Regions from separate parts of the Homo sapiens genome. Here region 2 is linked to region 1. Evidence: promoter capture Hi-C in 16 types of primary human blood cells and fetal thymus (Javierre and others, 2016). All regions are on one chromosome and are shown on one strand. Each heading gives the region's core, a stretch centred on a gene start or on the middle of the fragment in contact. The rest is flanking DNA. Distances are from core to core; before and after follow the strand shown. Region 1 holds the start of HJV (hemojuvelin BMP co-receptor). Region 2 holds the start of PDZK1 (PDZ domain containing 1).

Evidence for each region. The method cuts DNA at HindIII sites, captures the fragments that hold promoters and counts their contacts. A CHiCAGO score of 5 or more calls a contact.
Region 2: a fragment that was not itself captured here is called in contact with the fragment with the promoter of HJV in region 1 in 1 of 17 cell types (activated CD4 T cells); the score reaches 5.5 in activated CD4 T cells.

What each region holds. Positions count from the first base shown.
Region 1 is chr1:146,020,061-146,026,019 of GRCh38, reverse strand. It overlaps HJV (hemojuvelin BMP co-receptor), which reads left to right and starts at 4,285. Exons shown (of 4, transcript NM_213653.4): 1 at 4,285-4,433; 2 at 5,700-5,885. The coding sequence starts at 5,789. The HindIII fragment of the contact is 1,771 bases long and covers 2,696-4,466 here.
Region 2 is chr1:145,701,461-145,707,419 of GRCh38, reverse strand. It overlaps PDZK1 (PDZ domain containing 1), which reads left to right and starts at 52. Exons shown (of 9, transcript NM_001201325.2): 1 at 52-103. RefSeq lists an enhancer at 1-1,004. The HindIII fragment of the contact is 459 bases long and covers 3,593-4,051 here.

The DNA.
Region 1 (5,959 bases), core at 3,036-5,535:
GTATTCTCAACAAAAGAGAGATGACACACCACTCTGCTACCACAAAAATGACCAGATAATCCCCTCTTCAGACTAACATGAGTAACTAATGCTTTTTTCTCTTTACCAATTTGGGTTATAATCCTCTTGCTTCCTAGGTAAGAATTATTTAGACACCCAATCACTGAAACGCCCCCACTTCTTAACAGTATTCAATCCCAAATTAGTCCTCATTCAGAGTTTTAGAGACTAGGAAAAAACAAACAAACAACAAAATCAGCCCTCACTATTCTAAACTGTAGTTCAGAAATATCCAACAGAAGCTGAAACTCTATAAGAGGTTCCTTTTAACCTCTCCTTAGGGAAATGGTCCCATAATTCCTTTGGGGCATTCTCTCCCTTGCTACAGCAAGCCAGTAGATTTAACTTTTTTGACTACAGATTTGTTTCCAGTGGTGTTTAGTTAATGAGCTTTGACAAAGATAATGGTCAAATTTCTCCAATATCAATTGACTATGTGAAGAATATACATATATATACACACACACACACACACACATATTTGTGTGTGTGTATGTAATATATACATATTTATATAAGAACATATTGGCAGGGCGCAGTGGCTTATGCCTGTAATCCCAGCACTTTGGAAGGCCAAGGTGGGCGGATCACTTGAGCCCAGGAGTTCGAGACCAGCCTGGCCAACATGGCAAAACCCCATCTCTACTAAAAATACAAAATTAGCTGAGTGTGATGACACATGCCTGTAATCCTAGCTACTCAGGTGGCTGAGGCATGAGAATCACTTGAACCCAGGTGGCAGAGGCTGCAGTGAGCCGAGATCTCTGGGTGACAGAGGGAGACCCTGTCTCAAAAGAAAAAGAAAAGAAAGAACGAACCCAGGTCATTTGTCCTGTAGAGTATTCACAAAGTCTGAATTTGCACCTTTGAGTTACCACTTAATGTCTCCTGTATTTCCTGTAAATTAGTAGTTAGCTCTAATCAGATTCAGACTGGTTTGTTTGTTTGTTTGTTTGTTTGTTTGTTTTTGGTATGGCTACTTCATGCAAGGTGGAGTTATGTACTCTATGATCAGGAAAACATGTTTATCTCTGTTTTCATGATGAATAACAGCCACTGTTTTTTTGTTTACGTAGAGATGGGCTCTTACTATGTTGTCCAGGCTGGTTTTGAACTCCTGGGCTTAAGCAATCCTCCCACCTCAGCCTCCCAAAATGCTGGGATTACAGGTGTGAGCCACTGTGCCCTGCCACAGTCATTGTTGACCATTGCCTAGATATATTAATTCATTTGGATTTACAAAATGTTGATATTCTAATTATATTATCCCTTCTTCAATTATTTACTGGAATGCTTCTATAAAGAGAAATTTCCCCCTCATCTTGAGATACAGTTCCCAAAAGAAAACCAGGATAAATACTTGATTCTTTCCAATTACCAGCAGTTTTTAAAATAATGAGTTGATCTGCCAGCATTCTCCAACAATGACCAATGGGTTTGTATTTTTAAGTATCATTGTGAATTCATGGATTTAAACATATTTTATGAATTTCAATCCATTGCAGATAGTATCCATTTTGATACTTAAATTGCCCCATCTTTGGCCAATGGGAACTATTCTAGTTGGCTCCTAAGTTCTTTTATTACAATCCTAACACTCTTTGAAAGCTTCCTTGCCTATCTTGGACAATACCTGCCCCAAACCTGAAATCAGCCACTTATCCAAGGAGTTGTTTGTTGGTCCCTTTTAACAGAAAATGGTATTTACATAGCACAATTTGAGTACTAGAGGTGTTTATTTTTACTGGATCATTGTTTCCAGGCCTTTTTAGGGTAAAGCTAGGAAAATTTTAAGGATAAAATAAACCATGAGTTCAGAGTTATATTTGCAATTTAAATTCAGAATTACGGAGTTTTCTCTTAACTTCATCAATCGTAAATATGTATCTCTTTATTCCACCCCAAAAATTCTGGTTCTCAGAGACACTAACATTATTAATCATTTGTTTTATCTCATAACTAAAATAATCTCAGAATAACAATACCAACACTAACACCATAATATGGCTATTTAAAAATATTTTTGCATTTATTTTCTGGCATTATAGTATATCCCACTTAGGCTGTCATAGTCAAATTATTATGTTTTAAAGTCACTTGAATAGTTTGGTTAGAAGCATTTTACATTTCTATAATGAAACTGCTTGTGATATGGCCTCTAATGGTTGAGAAATATTTGTCATATATATATACCTGAGAAGTATATATTTGACAAAAATATTTGTCATATATATACCTGAGAAGAGTGCTATGAGGGCCTCTAGACTCTGTATTAAAATAGAGCCAACTGGTAAAGATGGCTTAGTGATTGTGTTGGTTATTACTGAGTGTCAATTTGATTGGATTGAAGGATACAAAGTATTGATCCTGGGTGTGTCTGTGAGGGTGTTGCCAAAAGAAATTAACATTTGAGTCAGTGGGCTGGGAAAGGCAGATCCACCCTTAATCTGGGTGAGCACAATCTAATTCACTGCCAGCACAGCTAGAATAAAAAGCAGGCAGAAAAATATGAAAGGAGAGACTGGCCTAGCCTCCCAGCCTACATATTTCTCCCATGCTGGATGCTTCCTGCCCTTGAACATCAGACTCCAAGTTCTTCAATTTTGAGACTGAGACTGGCTCTCCTTGCCCCTCAAGCTTGCAGACAGCCTACTGTGGGACCCTGTGATTGTGTAAGTTAATACTTAATAAATTCCCCTTTATTTATATATCTACCTATATAGATATCCATATCTATATAGATATTAATAAATCTAGAGAGACAGAAAGCAGACTGGTGATGGCCAGTCTAGATGGCTAGATAGATAGACATGGATATAGATATAGATCTCTATATAGATAGAGGTAGATACAGATATAGATATATGCCCTATTAGTTCTGTTCCTCTAGAGAACCCTAATACAGTGACCGTATTTGGAATCGGTCCTTCTGTTAATTTCACTTGGCAAGTACTAAAAGATGATGATCTCAGATATACCTATGGCTGCAAAAACATGACATGGCTAAATCCCTTGGTTGCAGTATCTCTTTTCTTTTTTAAGGGGGGTGGGGGGGCGGGTCTCACTGTTGCCCAGGCTGGAGTGCAATGGCGTTATCATAGCTCACTGCAGCCTCAAACTCCTGCGCTCAAGTGACCCTCCTGCCTCAGCTCCCAAAGTGCTGAGATTTTGCAATATTTATGGTCACAAGATTATGTTATTCCATAAAAGTATCTTTCTGAGGCTAGGCATGTTGGTTCACACTTGTAATCCCAGCACTCTGAGAGGCTGAGATGGAAGGATTCATTGAGGCAAGGAGTTCAAGACCAGCCTGGTCAACATAGTGAGACCTCATCTCGGAAGGAAGGAAGGAAGGAGGGAGGGAGGGAGGGAGGGAGTGAAGGAAGGAAGGAAGGAAGGAAGGAAGGAAGGAAGGAAGGAAGGAAAAGTATATTTTTGAATCTTTTTCTATTTCTCCAACTCTTTCTTTAGAAGAATTCTATTTCCATTCTTTCTTCACCTCTTTGCCTTTGTTAGCCTTCTCTCCAAGCAAATCGGGAGCCTTTATTTTTTGTGTATTCATGAGGGAGAGGAAGATGAATTGCTGTACAAACTAAAGTAATGAAAATGGAGTAGGTAGGAGGATAGACAGCTGCAAGGATCTGAGCTGGATAGACTGAACAAACCCTCATCCTAAGCAACTCACAGCTCAGATTTCTTCTCTGGACAGCTGGCTTTTTTCGTCCTTCTGAAATACTCTGCAAAGATAGGAGAGGGGCTATGAACTACCTCTGCTATGGATCTTATTCAAAGTCAGCTACCTCCTAGATACTATCTGTAGAACCTAAATGTAATATTCAGCATAGCAGGGATGAACATGGTAAATGAAAGGTATCCAATTGCCCACTGTAATTTTTAAAGGCCAGGAGCTCAACATTATTGAAAATGCTGGAGGGCTGCCTGGAGTAGGCAGTGACCACAGAGTCACACAAGCTGGAATTGGATATCCAACTTGTCTGTCATATTTCTCTCCTCCCTCCCTGACTTGGCACTCAATACTCCATATTCTTTCTAATCCTCTAACCCTCCCCACTCCCCCAACTCCCACACCCTACCCCCACCAACGTTCCTGGAATTTTGGACTTAGCTATTTTTAAAACCGTCAACTCAGTAGCCACCTCCCTCCCTGCTCAGCTGTCCAGTACTCTGGCCAGCCATATACTCCCCCTTCCCCCCATACCAAACCTTCTCTGGTTCCCTGACCTCAGTGAGACAGCAGCCGGCCTGGGGACCTGGGGGAGACACGGAGGACCCCCTGGCTGGAGCTGACCCACAGAGTAGGGAATCATGGCTGGAGAATTGGATAGCAGAGTAATGTTTGACCTCTGGAAACAGTAAGTCAAAATGAAATTGCAATTCCTTTAATAAGCTTTTATATTGAAGTTAGACTTTTATAAAATTACAAACACCTACTTGGATGTCTCTCGTCCAAATGCTGGGATCTCTCCCTACCAAGGTGCCCCAATCTCCATTTCTCTTTCTGTCTTATTTCTTTCTGGCCTCTGGCCTCTAGCTTTTTGAAGTTTAATTCTCTGTCTCTCCTCTGGCAGTCTTAGCCCTCTCTTTACCTTATTACCTCAAGACTCCTGATGAAGTTTTAGAAGGAGTTCCCTACGTCCTCTATTCTGTAGTTTTCTTACCAAGGCCAAATATGACCTCAGATGATGAGTCACTGATACCCTTCTATCCTGCCCCCACTTAGCAATGCCCTTCACATTGAGATTCCAAGCATGGGGGCTGCTCCCTGTAAATGATTTCTCCCCACAACTCTAGTCCCTCCATTCTATTCTCCCTCTTGCAGGACTCTTCCCCCAATCATATCCTTACCCATAAGATAGGGGAGTTAGGCAGGAGGGATTTAGCCCCTCTCCAACTCCTGTCATCATAAAAGACTGAGAACTTCAGAATTTGAAAAGAAGAGATTAATGGAAGGAGTGATATTTGGGAAAATACAAGAACTGTTGACTTAGAAAAAACAAATATTGATTTGCATGTTTGGTTTGCATCCCATTATTCCATGAGAGAGGGAGATTAAAATTGCAGCTCTCTAGAGCTGATGAAAAGAGATTGGTTTCCTTTTCATTTGAATACTGATATTCTAGACGGGATGGGTATGCCACCCTTAATCCTTCTTGTGTTCTGACACAAAGGAGGAAAAGAAATGTATGACTCCTAGAGGGCATCTCCTCCTAATGGAGAGGGACAAATAAGAAGTATGTTTCTGAAATATTTTCAGGTCCTAATTTTACTAGGGTACCCACTAGGATTACTGGTATCTGATCTAGCCCCATGATTCCTCCATCTTTGACATACCTGCTGTTTGGTAGCTCAGAATGGAGCAATACAGTGGACTCTGCCCCCTTGAGTTCACTCAACCTTCCCTCCACCCCCACCTAGGGGTATTGCACAAGGGCCCTAAAAGTGGCCACAGGAACAGGGCAAAGAGGCTTAACTGCCACACTTATAGTTTGAGGAACTCCAATCTCCCCAAATTCCAGTCTGTTCATCCTTTTCTTGATCTCCCCAGATTCACTCCACATTATCCTTACCAATCTTCAATTCTTCTCTCTCTCCATGTCCAGCCAAATTTCTTTTTTCAGTCACTTACAGGGCTTCCGGTCAAAATTCACTAGGTAGGAGGGTCATCAGCTGGGAAGAACCGGCGCCTGGGAAACCTGGCTGGATAGGTATGGGGGAGCCAGGCCAGTCCCCTAGTCCCAGGTCCTCCCATGGCAGTCCCCCAACTCTAAGCACTCTCACTCTCCTGCTGCTCCTCTGTGGACATGGTAAGGAAGGGCCAGGGAAGGGTTTGGGGAAATCTAGAGGGTAGGCTGCTATGTAGGGGTGGGCATGTGAGCCT
Region 2 (5,959 bases), core at 2,573-5,072, 320 kb after region 1:
AATCAATCTTTGTTCAAAGTCCAGTGAGTTGCAAGCTTAATGCTCACCTGCAGAGACAGAATTCCTGAGTGAACGAACAGAGCAGCTCCTCTTCCATCTCCAGGTAAGAACTGCTCGTGTCCTCCTTGAGGGTGCTGGCCACCGGGGCCTGAACTACCTTCTTTCTTTTCCTTTTCCCTTTTTCTTTTTCCAAGCCAGTAGCTGGCTGTCTAGGGCAGAGAAGAGTCCCATGGGGAGGCAGCCAGGCCCCTTTGGCGGTGGTTGGGGGTGAGAGATGATCCACGCTCTGAGATTCTTTCTGCTGGAGATGCCCCTCACCTTTGTAGGCTAGGGTCTGCTTCACAAAGAAATTGGTAAACCGACCTCAGAAAAAGCCTTCCCGGGGTTGTGTGGGGGTTTGATGTGCAGCCAAAGGGAGTGAGACAACTGACTTCACAGGTAACCAGGCGGATATGCCCGGGACCTTCCTACTGATACAGGGGCCTTGGGTAGCAGAGAAGACTCTTCTGGAAGCAGCCTTTAAAGGATGCAGCCTAACTTAGCTTGCCCACTAGATAATAAAAGCAGGCATCTTTCCTCTCTGTATCACACTGCAGCACTAAGACATGAGAAAAACCAGTGGATTTCCAGGCTGGCTGAATTTTAAAACATACATTCCCCAGGCTCTCACCTTTGGCATTTCTAAGTCTCCAGGCCTTGTGTGAATTGAAAGATCTTTATTTGAAAACTCTCCCAGAATCATTCTGATCAGTGCAGGTAGGTTTGGGAACCACTAGTAGTTTATTTCTTAAGCAGAAGACTCATGAGACTTAAGTATGACACTTACCTAAGGGTTCACTCGCTATGAAGACTCCTGGTCTGGGTTGGGTCCAGCTATGAAGATTTGGGCGTTGGCTCTGAGAAACACATTCTTCTTTATTTACTAAAATCTCTGCAATGTGTCACCAGGGCAGCTTTCAGTCTTGTATCTAGAAGGCAAGAGGGGGTAGCAGGGACTGCCTCAGGCCATGATTGTCCAGTCATCTGAAGTCTGCAGCAAATTACTCAGGGTCTTTGAATTTCTGTGTTATGATAGTAACTTGTGCTTATCTTTGACTTTTGTATGTTCTCTGCACCATAGGGTGTGAAGTTGCTGGTAATGATGTCTTATATTCATAGACCACTGGCTAGGCAGCTACTTCTCCCCCAGGGGAAAGAACATAGGACTGGAATACAAATCATCAGAGTTTTGATTCAGTTGCTAGTGACAGGCCATTAGACAAACTACTTAGCCAACTGGAGCCTCAATTTCATTATTGATCAAGTGAAGGTCTGTCATCTTTTCCCCAAGAGTGTACTGAAAATAAAATTATAAGTACAAATGTGTGGTCCTGCATGGTGGCTCATGCCTGTAATCCCAGCACTTTGGGATGCCCAAGCGGGAGGATCACTTGAGGCCAGGAGTTCGAGACCAGCCTGGGCAATGAAGTGAGACCCCCGTCTCTACAAAAAATAATAATAAATTAATCCTGCATGGTGGCATGTGTCTGTGGTGTCAGCTACTTGGGAGGCTGAAATGGAAGGGTTGCTTGAGCCCAGGGGGTCGAGGCTACAGTGAGCCGTGATTGCATCACTGCACTCCAGCCTGGGTGACAGACTGAGATCCTGTCTAAAAAACAAAAAACCATGAATATGTTAAAAACACGATGTAAGATGCCTAGATTTCAAATGTGTATATCGAAAGTCTCTGTAGAATAGTAAGAAGAAACAAATTGCAGTCACTTGGGAAACCTTGTCCTAGTCTTTTAATCTCATTGAGCCTCTGTTTGCTCACTTACAAATAAGAAGTTGAGACCAGATCATCATTAATGTCTTTTTCAGTTGGCCAAGTATAAGGTAGATCCTGGAGCCTTGAAGGGTAGCTCCTTGTCATTGGGGTATGAATTAAAATGTCACCTCCCAGGAAGGACTTTCTAAATCAGCCTCCCACCTCCATGCCACCAGTATCTCTATCATTCACAGCGTGTACCATCAGAAATCATCTCATTTGGGCTGGGTGCAGTGGCTCACATCTGTAATCCCAGCACTTTGGGAGGCTGAGGCAGGTGGATCACCTGAGGTCAGGAGTTCAAGACCAGCTTGGCCAACATGGTGAAACCCCATCTCTACTAAAAATACAAAAATTAGCCGGGCGTGGTACTGCCTGTCTGTAGTATTAGCTACTTGGGAGGCTGAGGCAGGAGAATTGCTTGAACCTGGGAGGTGGAGGTTGCAGTGAGCCAAGATTGTGCCATTGCACCCTAGCCTGGGTGACAAAGTGAGACTCCATCTCGAGAAAAAAAAAATCATCTCTTTTACTTGTCACCTTTGCCAGATGTTAAGCTTCAAGACTGCAGGGATCTTGTCATTTGTGTTACTTGCTGTATTACCAGCCCCTTGAGCACTACCTGGCATAGAACATATTTGCATAAATGGAATTAGTGTGGCAGGGAAGGAGCTAGAAGAATAGATGCAGATGGCGATGGCTTTGATGAGGTGTTCCTCAGGAAAGGAGGTTGAAGGACTCCAATCCTCTCTCAGGGCATCTGAAGTCCAGGGTCTAATCATATGGGAATGGGTTTCTCTGGTCACTTCTTAGTGAAATGATTCTTGCATTCGTTGCATAGGGATGCAATGAGAGTGGCAAGCTGGAGCTAGACGTGTTTTCCTCAAGATCTCAGCAACTTCTTTCTTTGGTCCTTCATGAGGGACTGCCCAGATTTCCTTAATCTCTTTGCCTGATGGGTATCATGGCTAAGTGATTAAGAAAATGAGCACTGGGATTGGAAACCTGCACTCTAGATCAGGCTCTCTAAGCTTCTATTTCCTTGTCAGTCAAATGGGCATATTAGAACCTAGTTCCGGAAGTTATGAGGGTTAAATGAATGCACATAGTGTCTAGCACATCTTAAGTGCTATTGAGATAATCTTCAGACAGCTTTGCTATTACATGACCCCCGGAAATGAAGGAACCCAGGGAATGGCAGGAGTTTTGGAAAGTAGAAAAGATAGCCCTAGCCCACTTAGTGGCAACTAGAGAAGGTTTGCTTTTGGTCTGAGGTGGTCACTGGTTTCTGAGGTGCCAAGCCTGGTTGGAGGCACAGATAGTCAGCATTCATAAAGCTGCGTAGAACCATGGGGTCCCAATGGGGACATGAAACTAAATGATCCAGAAAAGCCCGTGGACTTTCCACCAGTTGTATTGAATACATACCTGATGGTGTGAGAATACAGAAAGGGGCTGTGGTGCCTGCTCTTAAGAAAGCTTATCTTGGCTGGGCATGATGGCTCACGCCTGTAATCCCAGCACTTTGGGAGGCTGAGGAGGGTGGATCACTTGAGGTCAGGAGTTTGAGACCAGCCTGGCCAACATAGTGAAACCCCATCTCTACTAAAAATACAAAAAGTAGCCGGGTGTGGTGGCGGGTGCCTTCAATCCCAGCTTCTCAGGAGGCTGAGGCAGAAGAATTGCTTGAATCCAAGTGGCAGAGGTTGCAGTGAGCCGAGATCGCACCACTGCACTCTAGCCTGGACCACAAGAGCAAGATTCCATCCCTCCTGGCCAAAAAAAAAAAGCTTATCTTGTTGGGGACACACGACATGGATCCTGAAGCTCCTCTATAGTCTACTGGACTGAGTCCAGTGCTCACAGTCTAACCTACTTCTTTTTTTCAACATATAACTGTGCTCTGATCTTTCTGAACCATTCACCATTCTGGGAATGCATCTCCTGCTGTTCCTTCTGCCTGGGATGACTTCCTCTTCCTAGTCTGACTACTTGTATTTCCAGAATACATTCTACACCTCAGGCCTGGGAGGCAGGGTAGATGGTGGAAGGAATCCAGACTCAACTGGGTTTGAATCCAGACTCTGCTTATCCAAATAGTCAGGGGAAACCAAGTTAACTTTTCAGAGTCTCTTTTCTTTTTCCTTGTAAAATGGCCCATCAGGATTGAATCAGAACCCATAAAAAGTACCTAGGCTGGTTCCTAATCCTAGTAGGGAGCTCAATAAATATATATAACAATAAGAAAGCTTTTGTATTTAAATATTCCAGCACCCACAACGTTGTTCAGCAGTTAAACTTCATAACTCTCCCCACTGGACTCCAGGCTCTTTCAGGGCAGGACGGTAGCTATTCTGGGTTGAGCCCTGATACCTGCCTCGCAGTAGGTATTACATAGAACTTGTTAAGTACATGAGCGATAACTGAAATTCAGAAGATGAAATGATACCTTCAGACTGTGGTGGTCATGGAAGGATTCGTATATAATCTAAAATTTGAACTGAGCCTTGAAAATGGTAGGTCTTAAATTCGTTCACTTGGAACAAATGTTTACTTAGCACGTACTATGAGTAAGTGCTCATGGGGCATGAGCAAAGGGCAGGCTCGTGTGGGTGACCATGCATAGACCAATTGGGGCTTGCTGAGGAGCTGGGGGCCTGAGGTAGGGCTGGATTATGCTGAGCCTCAGTGCCTGAGCAAGAAGCTTGAACTTCTTTTTTTTTGAGACGGAGTCTTGCTCTGTTGCCCAGGCTGGGGTGCAGTGGCACGATCTTGGCTCACTGCAAGCTCCGCCTCTTGGGTTCACACCATTCCCCTACCTCAGCCTCCCGAGTAGCTTGGACTACAGGCGTCCGCCACCACACCCAGCTAATTTTTTGTATTTTTAGTAGAGATGGGGTTTCACTGTGTTAGCCAGGATGGTCTCGATCTCCTGACCTCGTGATCCGCCTGCCTTGGCCTCCCAAAGTGCTGGGATTACAGGCGTGAGCCACTGCACCCGGCCGAGCTTCTTTTTCTTGAATTATTATTATTATTATTTTTGAGATGGTAGTATAATAAAACCAGGGTTAGAAAGTTTGTCTCGAGGCAAGACTCTTGTAGTAGTTTAAACATACCAAAAAAAAAGTGGGGGGGTAGAAATGCAAGTTCAAAAAGTCACAAAATGTCGATTTGGGGAAAGCACTTGTCTCAGCTGGCACTCAAGGCGGTTGAGCTGTCTATCAGCAGCATGAGGGTGTCCTCTCTCTGTGGGTGCCTCTGTTTCCACACAATATTGGCTCTATCCCTCTCCCAACTCATAGAACTCTTAGATAAGCAATCAAACTGTGAAAGGCCTTGAACTCCAGCCCAGAGTCTTGCCATATAGGACAAAGTATTGTTTATGGTGGCTGGAGGTAGGGAAGGTACTTAGTATCAGCAGGCCAAATGAACTTTGGGATAAGTAGATTCCATTCTTGATCATAAATGAGAAATAAAAACTACTCAGTGGGTCTGGGATCACTCTTCTCCAGATAATTCTCAATGGAATGGATTTCATTGATTTCTCATATTTGAAATTTATCCCTGGCTAAGACCAAACAGTAACTATCACAATGGGAAAGTACACTAGGCAAATACATATTTTAGAATCTTGCTTCTCCTTCTATTTTTGATATTAATTATTTAAAGTAAATATACTTGAGTATTTGAATTTCCATATGCTTTGCTTTTCAGAGGAGAAATCCAGGCAGCCTTAAATATGATCTGCATAAAAATATAGGATCTGTTCTAGGTAAAATATATTTGAAGAAGGGTGAAATTGAGTTGTCTTTATCTCTTCCTTGCTAGAGACATCTGTCAGTAGCAGCTCAGATACAGCAGGATTTTTTTGCTTATGCTGTTGGAAGGAACAGCATGTGCCAAGGCTCTGTGGCAGGCTCTGAAGGAGGCCAGCCATGGCTGGTGTGAGGCATGAAGCCTTGGAGTCAGGGCTGATGCCTGTAGGGAATTCTCAGCCTGTCTATAGTTGCTGGCTTAATGTTGCACAGTCTCCACCAACTGTATTTTCCTAACAAAAGTCTAGTGGGTTTGTTTTCTTCTTTCTTGTTACACAGATGCACACAAGTGCTGCAAGAACAGCATTCCTCAAAGTGCACACTGTGGTCAAGCGTCCTG